Linked DNA regions of Homo sapiens: regions 2, 3 and 4 are each linked to region 1. Evidence: promoter capture Hi-C in 16 types of primary human blood cells and fetal thymus (Javierre and others, 2016). All regions are on one chromosome and are shown on one strand. Each heading gives the region's core, a stretch centred on a gene start or on the middle of the fragment in contact. The rest is flanking DNA. Distances are from core to core; before and after follow the strand shown.

What was found. Contacts are between HindIII fragments. The CHiCAGO score rates a contact against its expected background, and 5 or more counts as called.
Region 2: a contact is called between a fragment that was not itself captured here and the fragment with the promoter of PEX7 in region 1, in 1 of 17 cell types (neutrophils). The highest score is 6.3, in neutrophils.
Region 3: a fragment that was not itself captured here is called in contact with the fragment with the promoter of PEX7 in region 1 in 1 of 17 cell types (neutrophils); the score reaches 7.9 in neutrophils.
Region 4: a fragment that was not itself captured here is called in contact with the fragment with the promoter of PEX7 in region 1 in 1 of 17 cell types (neutrophils); the score reaches 7.1 in neutrophils.

The regions. Positions count from the first base shown.
Region 1 is chr6:136,821,342-136,824,383 of GRCh38, forward strand. PEX7 (peroxisomal biogenesis factor 7) reads left to right here and starts at 1,251. Exons shown (of 10, transcript NM_000288.4): 1 at 1,251-1,454. The coding sequence starts at 1,325. RefSeq lists enhancers at 822-971, 855-1,587, 1,588-2,320, 1,702-1,861 and a silencer at 1,152-1,531. The HindIII fragment of the contact is 4,798 bases long and covers 1-3,042 here.
Region 2 is chr6:137,319,757-137,322,798 of GRCh38, forward strand. No RefSeq gene overlaps it. Among named protein-coding and RNA genes, the nearest start is that of IFNGR1, 100 kb to the left of the region's middle. The HindIII fragment of the contact is 723 bases long and covers 1,127-1,849 here.
Region 3 is chr6:137,287,541-137,290,582 of GRCh38, forward strand. No RefSeq gene overlaps it. Among named protein-coding and RNA genes, the nearest start is that of IFNGR1, 70 kb to the left of the region's middle. The HindIII fragment of the contact is 8,336 bases long and covers 1-3,042 here.
Region 4 is chr6:137,263,820-137,266,861 of GRCh38, forward strand. No RefSeq gene overlaps it. Among named protein-coding and RNA genes, the nearest start is that of IFNGR1, 46 kb to the left of the region's middle. The HindIII fragment of the contact is 6,399 bases long and covers 1-3,042 here.

The DNA.
Region 1 (3,042 bases), core at 1-2,500:
TAAGACTCTTCATGATCTAGCCCCAGTAAAACACTCTACAGTCTCCCCACCCAATATTTTTTTCACCGTATCCCTTCCATCTGGCCAGGCTGAGTCCTGGCAGCCACGACCCCCTATGGATCATGCTGGTTTAAATCTCCTGGGTTGCTCATGTTATTCCTGCTCCTACAAAGATCTCCATCTTCTTGTCTACCTAAAGAAAACCTACTCATCTGTGTGCAATCACCATAAAGACTTATCTCTCTTCTGCAGCCTTTCCTGCAATTTCCATACCTCTGGCACGGACAATCACCTTTTAAAAATACCCCATATAAATTTATCATAGCCTCTACAGTATTTTGATTACACTTAACTAATTACATGACTTCTCTTTTAGTCTTCTTCTCTAATCTCTTGAGGCCATGGACCATATCCCATTATTTTGAATCCCAAATGCCTAGTACTGTTCTTGGTATATGGTTAAGATGATCATACGACTTGGTTTGTGCCTGTTGACCTGGCTTAATAATTACACCCTCTTTACTCTCAAAAGTATCTTGGTTTGGCAGATAAATTATATTTGGTCATTCTCCACATAGTATATGCCTGGCAATAAATGAATGAATGAGCACCAGCATCTGAGCACTTATTACCATACAATATATACATGTATAGTAATACTTTTTAAAAAAGTTGTATATGATGATGTGCTGCTTTTTTGCTTAGCTTCATTAGAACTGGCCAGCTCCTTTTTCTCACTTGCCAAGCATGGGGAGTTGGTTTGGAGTTGGTGTTTCATCTTTTCCAGTTACAGTGTGAAAGTAGCCCACCAGCCCACGCTCTTATTCCTAAAGACCGCAGTGACTCCACGGACTTAAGTTCTCATTGCTTCCAGTTTCCTTGGGCAACGCAGCACGCAATTTTGGACGCGCTGCGTGGTTTCAGAGTCGGCTGTAACTTTTCTCACTTTATAATCATCAGGAAAAGTTCCTGATGCCAGTCTTCCAAACGCTCAATGAAATAAAAACCAGATAGCACCGCAGAGGAGGCTGAGATGCAACGACAAAAGCTGTCGTAATTATTAATAATACCTAACCCTGGATCACTCCCCTGATAGATCTGTATCTTTGCAGCAGGCGCAATTCAGTTTGGATTCACCCAAAACAAAAATGGTCTCCGTCGGAGTCAACGCCCTTTCCTGTGCGGACCAATCAGAATCTCAAACACAGGGCACGGGGCCCACACTTCCGTCCGGTCTGCCTGGTCTCTCTAACCGCGCCAGTGTGCCTCCGACTCGGAACGGCTTCCGCGGCCGGGGCAGCGAGGGCCGGGGGCGGCGGGCGGGATGAGTGCGGTGTGCGGTGGAGCGGCGCGGATGCTGCGGACGCCGGGACGCCACGGCTACGCCGCCGAGTTCTCCCCGTACCTGCCGGGCCGCCTGGCCTGCGCCACCGCGCAGCACTACGGCATCGCGGGTGAGGCGGCGCCGCGCAGCTGGGGCCGGGGGGCGGAGGCGGAGGCGGGGGCCAGCCGGGCTCCAGTTCCTCGCGCTCGAGGGAAAGCCCCTCTGAGCGTAGACGGTTCCGCGGGTCCACGCCAGGGGGCAGAAGAGGCGCTGGTCGGCGCTTCTCCTTTCTTTGCCGAGTGCGAGGAGTTGGTCTGAAGCAGGAGTCGATCTTCCAGTTGTGTGCAAGTGCATATACGTGTAGCCTAGTAGCCCGTGTCCTTGTTCCTTGAGACCGCGCTGCCTCCGCCACGTGTCACACGCCCAGGCACACGTCCCCGTAGGGAGAGCCGGGGGAGCCTGCGCGGTCCCTTGGATCGGTCCGCTCGGCACAGCAGTACGGGGAAGACGGTCTGAGCCAGAACCGACCCAGGGCTCGCGAGTTGGCCCACAATTCCCAGTCTGCATTCGAGCACTGAGCTGCGACCTGCGGGCTGGCCTTCCTAAGGACGATGCTCCTGAATGGACGCCTGGAGTCCCACGGGTGACACCATGAAATATATCAAGTTCAGTTCTTACCTGTAGTTGTCTAACGAGGAATGCACACATTCGCAAGTAGGTGTTACAGACTCCAGTTAATTGTCTCCCGTCGCGCGCATTGGCTCAGCCTGTGGTTAAAGCTGCTCAGGAGGCTGAGGCGGGAGGATCGCTTGAGCCCGGGATGTTGAGGCTACAATGAGCTGAGATCACATCACTCTGCCCCAGCCCAGTGAGCTGAGATCACATCACTCCACTCCAGCCTGGGTGACAGACTGAGACCCCGTCTTAAAAAGAAAAAAGGCCAAGCGCCGTGCGGTGGCTCACGTCTGTAATCCCAGCACTTTGGGAGGCCGAGGTGGGCGGATCACTTGAGTTCGGGAGTTCCAGACCAGCCTGACCAACATGGAGAAACCCCATCTCTACTGAAAATACAAAATTAGCCGGGCGTGGTGGCGCATGCCTGTAATCCCAGCTACTCGGGAGGCTGAGGTAAGAGAATAGTTTGAACCCAGGAGGCAGAGGTTGCGGTGAGCCGAGATCGTGCCATTGCACTCCAGCCTGGGCAAGAAGAGCAAAACTCCGTCTCAAAAAAAAGAGTCCATCTAGTCCGTGGACTAGATGAAAAGGCGTAGGTTCATTCTCGCTTTTGCCTTAATTCATGTCCTAGCTATTATACGCACTGAAGCGAGATGCAAAAACTCATTTCATAATGTCAGTGGTCTATTGTATTTTTTTGTTTTGTCCTACAGCAGAAAAAAATGTTACTTCTAAAACTCAGAGAAATACTTGATTTATTTTCATTATTAGCTCTTAGTGCTTGCACATTCAGATTTACATGGCCCACCAGTTAGACTGAAGACTCATGAGTCTATAATGGTAGTAGTTTTCTTTTTTTCTTTTTTCTTTTTCTCTTTAGAGACAGGGTCTCACCCTGTTGCCTAGGTTGAGTAGAGTGGTGCAATCACAGCTCACCGTAGCCTCCACCTCCTGGGCTCATATGATCCTCCTGTCTCAACCTCACCAGTAGCTGGGACCACAGGCATGTACCATCACACCTGGCTAATTTTTGATTTTTTATT
Region 2 (3,042 bases), core at 238-2,737, 500 kb after region 1:
TAAAATAATTGTCTTAATTTCACATGAAACCTATTACAATAAATAGTATTTCTGGCTAGGTATAAAAGACATTGGTTTATTTTCCAATAAAATTATAATTCATCTGGTTTATGAGCAGGAGCTTAGAGATCAACTACAATATGAAGCAGTTCAATGTTTAAATATTATTTCTCATTTCATACCTGTGATTCGAAAACCTTTCCTGTTCATACACAAAGTGAGAAAATGTATTTCTAATCACAGCAGTAACCATATACTAATAAAGACATTGCTGAAATTGAGGTTCAGTGTGTGTGTGTGTGTGTGTGTGTGTGTGTTTGTGTGTTAGTGGGTGCATGGGTTTTGTTTTTTTCTGAACTCTAATACACCCAACATACCGGGGGATTTGGAGAGGCCAATAGAGCAAAACGCCATGACTATCCCGTGGTGATGGTCAGCTCACAGTTTGAGAACCTGACGAACAGCTTGACCGGCCAGCCTGTGGCACCCACAGCGAGTGGCTCTGGATGCAGCTCTCGGACAGGAGAAGTGGGTTCTTCCAAAAGCAAACAAACTCCGACCCACGGTCTTCATCTGGGCCCATCAGGTCAACCGTTGTTTTACAGAACATCGGCGATTGTCTTTCTCCTTGTGTCAGGAGCCTCTTGAAACATTATACGAGGATAATTAAGTGGTGAATAAGGGTCAATGTGGACAAATAAATCAAACTGATAGTTTGAACACAGACTGATTGAGCAAAAACAAGGAATTCTGCCATGCCTGTTACTGCAGTGCTTGATGTTAACTGACTTTGTTAACATTACATCCAAAGGCAGCAAGTGGGAAAGCTTTGTGTGGGATCAAAAACTGAGCAAAGAGACACGGGATTTAATTGTTCAGCTTTATTTTTGAAATAAAGACATGCAGCGCATCTATTTAGTTGACTTTAATGGAGCACGAAACCAAACCCATTCTTTAGCATGCTAATTGAGCCAGAAGATGCTTTCCTCTCCTGTAACAGAGATGCAAGAAATACCAGTAGAATCATCAGACTTTTGGAGCAGAAGTTCAGAGTTTAAAAATCTGACGGGAAGTTAAGTCCCTCTATCTCATGAGACAAATGAAATATTCAAGTAAATACAATATAAGCTTATAAATATTTTTAAATCACCTATCACAAGTCTAGTGGTAGTAAATGTTCATAGAATAAGAAGCTGTTGAAGTCAAATGTATTAACTTATGAAAGAGATTTTGTCAAGCAGAAGGGCAGCCTAGAAATCCTAAACAGGAAAGAGAGGGAGAGAAAGACAGACAGAACTCTTTAAAAAGACTTCTGTGTGTCCACAGGTTTGTTCTCTGGGGAAAAAATTATTAGAAATGAAATCGAAGGAGAAATCTATCTTAGTAAGGATAAAGAGGAGCTATATATATTATATACATATTTATAAATTTTTATTAAAATATATTTTTTATAAATATTCAAATATACTTTTATAAATATTTAATATATATATATTTTTTACCACGAACATGCATCTTGACTATTTTATTTGAGTATTGGAATTCAAGTTTTCCTGGCAGTCAAAATTTCACTTCACTATCCAGCTCTAATGTAGCAGAAATGAATATGTAGTTTAAGCTATAATTTTTTGTCATGTTAATGATCTTAGTTGTTATTTTATAGTCTTGTTCTAACTTACCATAATGGTGCTTGTGTCCGACAACGTAGGACACTGGATTTAATAATATATCACATATATCTTCATACATGAACAGCATCAATCTTTAAAATGATGATATTTAATAGTCTCACAAATAAAGTGAAAGAAACGTAATATAAACTTATGAAAATACATGCTATATCAATGTAAGCTTACAAAAATATATGCTATATTTTAATTATAAACTCACCAATGAATGAATTTTATTATAAAGAAAACCATTACTTTATTAAAAAATCTCCTTTAATAGAAAATCTTCTTTAATAGAAAAATGTATAAAGAGAAATGAGACACTGATTGCTTCTACCTTTCTGTGCTTTCCATATTTTATATATAGGTTGCTTGAAGAAATTAGCAATATAGTGAATAGTAATTGCAAACAGTAATTTATGAGTTTAAAGACATTTAAATGGCATTTGTTTGTAAGCATTGTTTACAAATTCATTCCCATATCTGGTCATCTGTCTTCATTTTTTAATTTAAATACTAGTATTAATACCAATACGCTTAGATCAACAAGGATAACACTGTTATTAATGTTGTCTTTTGGCTGTGTTAATATAAAATAACTATCAAGAATAAATTATATGGGGGAAGGTGGCTATTTGCTGCAGTGCTCCTAGGTTTTTTTTTCCCCATAAATATTTTCACATAAAGAATCTAAGAGAAGCTCATCTATGAGCCGCCTACTCTGAGAAAGTGGTCTGAGAAAGGTGTAATGGATTGTGGAGGGAAATGAAGGCAAGCTTACACCATATCCAATCAGCCTTTTTCTGAAAGGTCAGGACATTCTGTCTGGGCCCATTTGTGTTTTTGATTCTGCCGTTTCACTATTCAGTAACACAATGTAACTGTCAGTCTCAACAACAGCTCCTGGATCTGCTGGCTCCACAGCTCTCGGGGTAACATACAATATTTCACATTCACAAAACAATTCAACGTCTGCGTGAGCAAACCATATGATGACCACAGGGAGCAATATGGTCACACCCTACTGAGCACTCTTAAGGGGACTCTGCAAAGAACTATGTCTAAAAAAGAATCAGGCTTTGCTCCTCTGGGCTTTTGCTTACTTGCCAAATAGCATTTTAATGTTTCATTTTTATCAGCAGAAGTCAAATGCAAATGTTCCTCCCTCTGCTCCATTTTGGTAGAGAAAGAGAGCTTTACTGCTATGCAAAACATTTGCAGTCATGGAGTTAGGAGGGTGATAGATATTAGAAATAATTTAGCACATTAATGATGGCCTTTTTGGATTTCCCCCGTGTGTGTTTTGTTATATTATTTATTTCTCTTCCCAAACAAAACCAGACACCAGCTCAAATTTATAAGGACAAAGCAT
Region 3 (3,042 bases), core at 143-2,642, 470 kb after region 1:
AGAAAAGTAGGATGCTCTTCTGGGCAGATAAAACAACTTGTATTTGTTACAAATATTTATAAAACTCAGTTTTAATTTTAGGGCAATGTAAGAGGAAGCTACTGCTTTGTAACAAAAATCCCTAACATCTAGTTGAATACAACAGTAAGCAATTATTTATTACATATCTATGGGTCAGCTGGACAATTCTACTGATTTTAGTTGAACTTGCTCAAGCATTTGCAGGTTGCATAGGGGTTGACCAATCTGGGGTGGACTCAGCTGGGCAGCTCTGCATTATTCTCCCTGGACCAGCAGACTAGTCTTAATTTGTCTTCTCTCAGTGATGATTAAGGTACAAGAATATAAGCCCAATCATGGAGATATCTTTCAAGCATTTGATCTCATTATTTCAGTCCTCATGCCATTGGCCAAAGCAAACCACCTGTCCAGCTCCAAAACAAGTGATGGGCAAACACATCCCATCTAAGAAGGTAGGTGTGTGAATGTTTATGAACAATAACCTTACCTCCAAAATTAATTAATATCAAAATGTTCTTCCTGGAATTAAAAACAAGAGCACCTAGTTCTAACCAAAATTCCCGCAGGGTTTTTCATGAATTTTGATAAGTTGATCTCAAAAGTTTATATGAAAGAGTAAAGACTGAAAATATAGCCAAGATTGTTTTTCAGATAAAAGTAAAGTGGTGGGAATTATCAAGATTTTTCATAAAGCTATAATAATAAACCCATTTAATACTGATATAGGGAGCTACAAGATGGAAATGGCCAAGGAGCTGTTTTTTGAAAGACAAGAGGTTGTAATATTCAATTTCAAACTGAGTTTCTATGACATTTCTCCAAACCTTCAGGCAAGTCTTCTCCATCCCCACCCCAAACACATATACACACAATAGGAAAACTGAGAAAAATTCATGAGGACATGGATTCTATTCACTCTATCGTAGCATACAGAACAGGGTCTGGTGTACAGTAGATACTTGATAAAAATGTTCTGCATAACTAGATAAAAACTAGTATGAACAGGTTTGATGTATTTCCACAATGATAACCACACTGGTTGCGACTCCTATATATCTTTGAAGGTGTAGAGATGGTAGATTATTTACATTCCTTTTCAACATCTGGTAGCTCTGTCTTAAAATTTTTGCTTTTAAGTACTATGATAATTTGTGAGAGGTCTTAATACCCACCCAATTAACTTTTAGAGACTTGTGGGAATGAAACCAAGGAGTATGAAATTGAAACAGGCATTCAATTTCTAGATAAAAAGAGATGACAAGAAAAACATGTAAAAGAAGTACAGCATGAAATAAAAGAGGTAGGAGTATTTTCCTTAGAATATTAAGAAAATGCAATACTATTTTTTGCACAGTTGAAGAACACGATTGAAGAGAATTACCTATCAGAGTAGGTTAGTGTTAGAAGCAGATGTTGTCTAGGCATTTTGTTGAAAGAGACAGACTTTTAAAAAGGTTTTTATAAAATTTAAATTTTAATAATCAATATTTTATAATATAATACATTTACATTTTAGAAGTTACACTTAGTATATATTATATATAATTAGTATATGTAATATATATACTAAGTATAATAGTATAATATATCTTAGTATAATATATATGTGTTAAGTATTTATATACCCGTTATTCCCTTGGGTAATTTATCCTTCATCTTCATGAGCTTTTGGTCTTGCCAACTGTGTTTTGCTCTCTGTAGTCCATCTTTGTAATATAATCTTTGACGTGGGCAAGAGCTTACTGAAGTTATTGTTCCTTATCTGGAGGGTTTACAAAATTAATATTAACAGAATGACTAGGAAAAAGGGAGAGCTGCGTGTCCAAATGGAGTTCCAAGAAAGGAATTGAAAGTGCCTGTGTTAATCTGTCTTCCCCACGAAGACTGCTAATACCGGTGAGGGTGGTAACGGGGTGGCCTGGTTCCCCAGAGCCTGGATGAAGTGACTGAAGTCATGAAGACATTTCCACTGGATGGAAATATTTAACTGAATGGTGGAAAGAAAAAATATTTCCATTCATTCAGAAAACACCGAAGGCCTACTGTGTGCCAAACATTGCTCAGCAGTGAACTAAGCAGATGAAAATCCTATTCTCCTTGGGTCTTCATGCTTGCACGCTTGCTTCTCTTACCCAGTTAATACTAGAAACTATGGAGGAGAAAATAGAGTGAAGGGTAGGGAACCAGCCCGCCTGAAGCAGCCATCGCTGACCCACGGAGAAAGGGCTGTGAGACTGGGAGAGAGAGGGAAGGGCATCAGGCAGGGCAGGATCCCAGGACAGGCTGGAGGGTGGTCCTGAGCTGGCCATCTGGGAGGAGTGAACTTCCTGACTAAGCAAAAGTAACTACCTATGAGGCCGTGGGATGAGATGAGTTTCCCATCATTATCTCTGTCCTTCCATTCCCGAAAAAATAAATAAGAAGAGAAGGTCCTCCTCTCCCAGGAGCTTCCCAGGGTGGTTTTAGTGGAATGTACTTGAGAGTAAATATCAGAAGACTTGGGTTCTAGTGTAAATTCTATTGCTGACAGTTTACTGGTGGGTAAAATGAGTTCAGTTTACATAGTCTCTCAGTTGTCTCTCAACTCTTTATGACTGTGTAGCCCACCAGAAGCAGAAATAAAGATATTCCCTGTTTTGTGTGCATACATTTCCTAGACCCAAACTCATGTCTTTGCATAATGCTTATCAATAGAATAACTAAATAAAGCATTATTCTGTTTATAATAGAATGCCTCATAATCTTGTATATTGTTGAAATACCTCAATTAAAGTTTTATTATTATTACTGAAACTTCATGGCATGAAAAGTCAAACTAATTTTTTATTCTAAAACCACACCCACCAATTGCCAATTTGTCTTCAGTGTAACAACCACGTCTTCTTTGCCTATTGTAACTGTGTCTTAGTTTCTATCTGAAATGTTCACTTACCTGTGAAGTTCCTGATATCCCCAGTCCGAATGCACTTTTTCGTCTGTCTTCTCTCAGCACCTGTTTTATCCCTCTGCTGAATCACTTGG
Region 4 (3,042 bases), core at 217-2,716, 440 kb after region 1:
ACACAACTCTAGACTCTATTCACCCAGAGAAAGCACCAGAAGAATCTGCAAACAAACGTTACTTCATTAGTTTACCCCCATATAGTTATTTTCCCACTGTTTCCTACCCCGAAAGGAAATTGCCTTCCTTTGTCCTGTCATTTCTCTATAAATTTATTGTTCTTTGTTGAAGATGCGATACAAGCCAGAGTTCTAAGCAACTGCTTTGAGTTACTTTTCATTGAGGTTTTTCCTGCATGGTGTTCACTGTATGTGTTAATAAACTTGTTTGTTTTTTTCTTGTTGATCTGCTTTTGTTACAGGGGCTTGTCTCAACTGAGAACTTACACAGGGACAGGTAATCTGTAGCTTCCCTGACAACTGAAATGAAAGAGCTAAAATTACAAAACTCTTAAAAGAAAACATGGGATTTGCTATGGTTTGAATGTCCCACCAAAACTCATGGTCAAATTTAATTGCCATTGGGGTAGTACTAGGAGGTAAGACCTTTAAGAGGTGTAGATCATGAGGGTTCTGCCCTTGTGAACGGATTAATGCTGTTATCAGGGTAGTGGATTAGTTATTGAGGGAGAGGACTCCAGCATAAGTTTGACCTCCATTTTCTCCCTGTCTCATTTGTCACCTGCCTTTCTGCTTTCAGCCATGGTGTGATGCAACAAGAAAGCCCTCACCAGATGGCTAAGCAGATGCTGGCACCATGCCTTTGGACTTCCCAGCCTCCAAAACTGTGAGCCAAATAATCTTTTGTGTATAAATTATCAAGTCTGTGATACTCCGTTATAGCAGCAGAAAACAGACTAAGACAAGATTAAATCTTTGTGACCTTGGGCTAATCAATGATTTCTTAACTATGACAATCACATATCGGATAAGAGCCTTAATTCACAATATATAAAGAACTTTTATAATTTAACAATGAAAAGACAACACAATTTTAAAAGGGCAAAGTATTTGAATAGACATTTCTCCAAATAAGTTATATAAATGGCCAATGAGCACGTGGAAAGATGCTCAACATCTGTTTGACATTAGGCAAATGCAAATCAAAACCACATTCACTAGGATAGCTACAGTAATTAAAAAAGGAATGATAGTAAGTGGTGAGGATGTGGAGAAATTGGAACCCTCATATATTGTTGGTGGGTATGTAAAATGATGCAACCACCGTGGAAAGCAGCTTGACAGCTCCTCATAAAGTTAAACATGGTGGTACCACAGGACCCAGCAATTCTACTCTTAGCTATATATGTCCAAGAGAGATGGAAATTTAAGTCCACACAAAAATTTAATTTGCCATTTTCATGGCAGCATCATATATAATGGCCAAATATTGGAAACAACCCAAATGTTCATCATCTGATGAATGGATCAACAAAATGAGGTATATCTATACAATGAAATAGGATTTGGCAACAGAAGAAAGAATGGAGTACTGACACAGGCTACATCATGGATGATCCTTGTAAATACTAAATAAAAAAAGCAAGTCATAAAAGATCACATATTGTATGATTTTATTTATGAGAAATGTCTAGAGTAGGCAAATCTACAGAGACAAAAAGTACATTAGTGGGCACCTAGGGCCAAAGAGGGGAGAGAGAATGGGCAGTGATGGCAGCAGGGTGTTTGGAGGAGGGCTGGTGATGAAAATGCTCTAAAGTTATAGAGATGTTTGCACAAATATATTAATATATTTTAAAACATTGAATTGTATATGTTAAATGATTGAATTTTATGGTATGTGACACATGTCAAGAAAGATGTTTTTAAAAATAGTTCAGGAAAATGGATATATATACAAATTATGCAACTAGTTCACTTTCCAGAATCCCATAAATTAAAACTCCTATGACTTGTAAATCTTCTAGATCTTAGACCGGATTATCATAAGCCTATTCTTAACTAGAAATTTCCTGGACACATGCCAAGGAATAAAAACTCTTGGCTGGGTGCGGCGCCTTAGAAACCCTGAGAGACAAGTATTATCTTCTAATCAACAAAACTGGTAGATGATTAAATTATTGGTTCAGAGTACAGGCTTTTTGCTAGACAGAAACATCCAAAACTTAATACTTAATAAAGGAAATTAAGAACAGAGATTTTTCATAGTGGAAACCTTGTTAAGATTACCGAGGCTTACAGGAGATAGTACCAGAGCATGCATGTATTTGGCAGCTACTGAGAGTCTGCTATTTGCCAGAAGATATTAGACACTGGAAAGAAATGTTTAAAAGGCTGAGTCCCTGCCCTAAGGGAGCTTATGGTCCAGGGAAGAGACACAAATGCGTTTCATATCACATGTTAAGTGCTGCGGGGAGGGTATGCAAGGAAACGAAGGGACAGAGAAGAGAGTTGGTCACCCTGGTTGGGAGACCAGAGATGCCTCCTCAGAGGAGTTTCTAGGAGAGGATCAGGGTTGGAGCAGGTGTGGGATTTCAAAGCACAGCCATCTGGAATGTGCACTCAGAAAGAAGAAAACCTCAGGGGACAAGGAGAGCCAGTGTCTGAAAAATGGCGCAAAAGGCTGTTCTCTTCTGTTATGCTATGTTTATGTTTCTTTGAGGAGGGAACTGTGTAAGAGGTAATGTGTGGTAACGTATTAGCACTTGAGAAGGAAATGCCTTTGACTCAGTGCAATTTCTTCCCCAGTAAGAATAATCTCCAAAGACTGCTAAAAATATAGAGGAGAAGCAAAGTGAAGTCTTCGTTTTTTCTTTTTTCATCTCTTCACAGCAGGTGAATTAACCCAAAATTCGTCATCATAGGAGCAGCAGTTCTTTTTTAACCTCACATACAATTTTACATTTTCCTTAAAAACTCTTTATTTCAAATACACACAAATGGAGAGAGGAGTGTGATAAAACCCCATATTCCTGCTGGCTTAGTCTGTTTTGTGTTGCTATAAAGGCGTACCTGTGGCTGGGTGGTTTGTAAGGAAAGAGGTTGAGTTAGTTCATGTTCTGCAGCCTGTGCAAGAAGCATGGTGCTGGCATCTGCTCTGCTTCTGGTGAGGACTTTTGTGCTCCATCAAAACATGGTGCA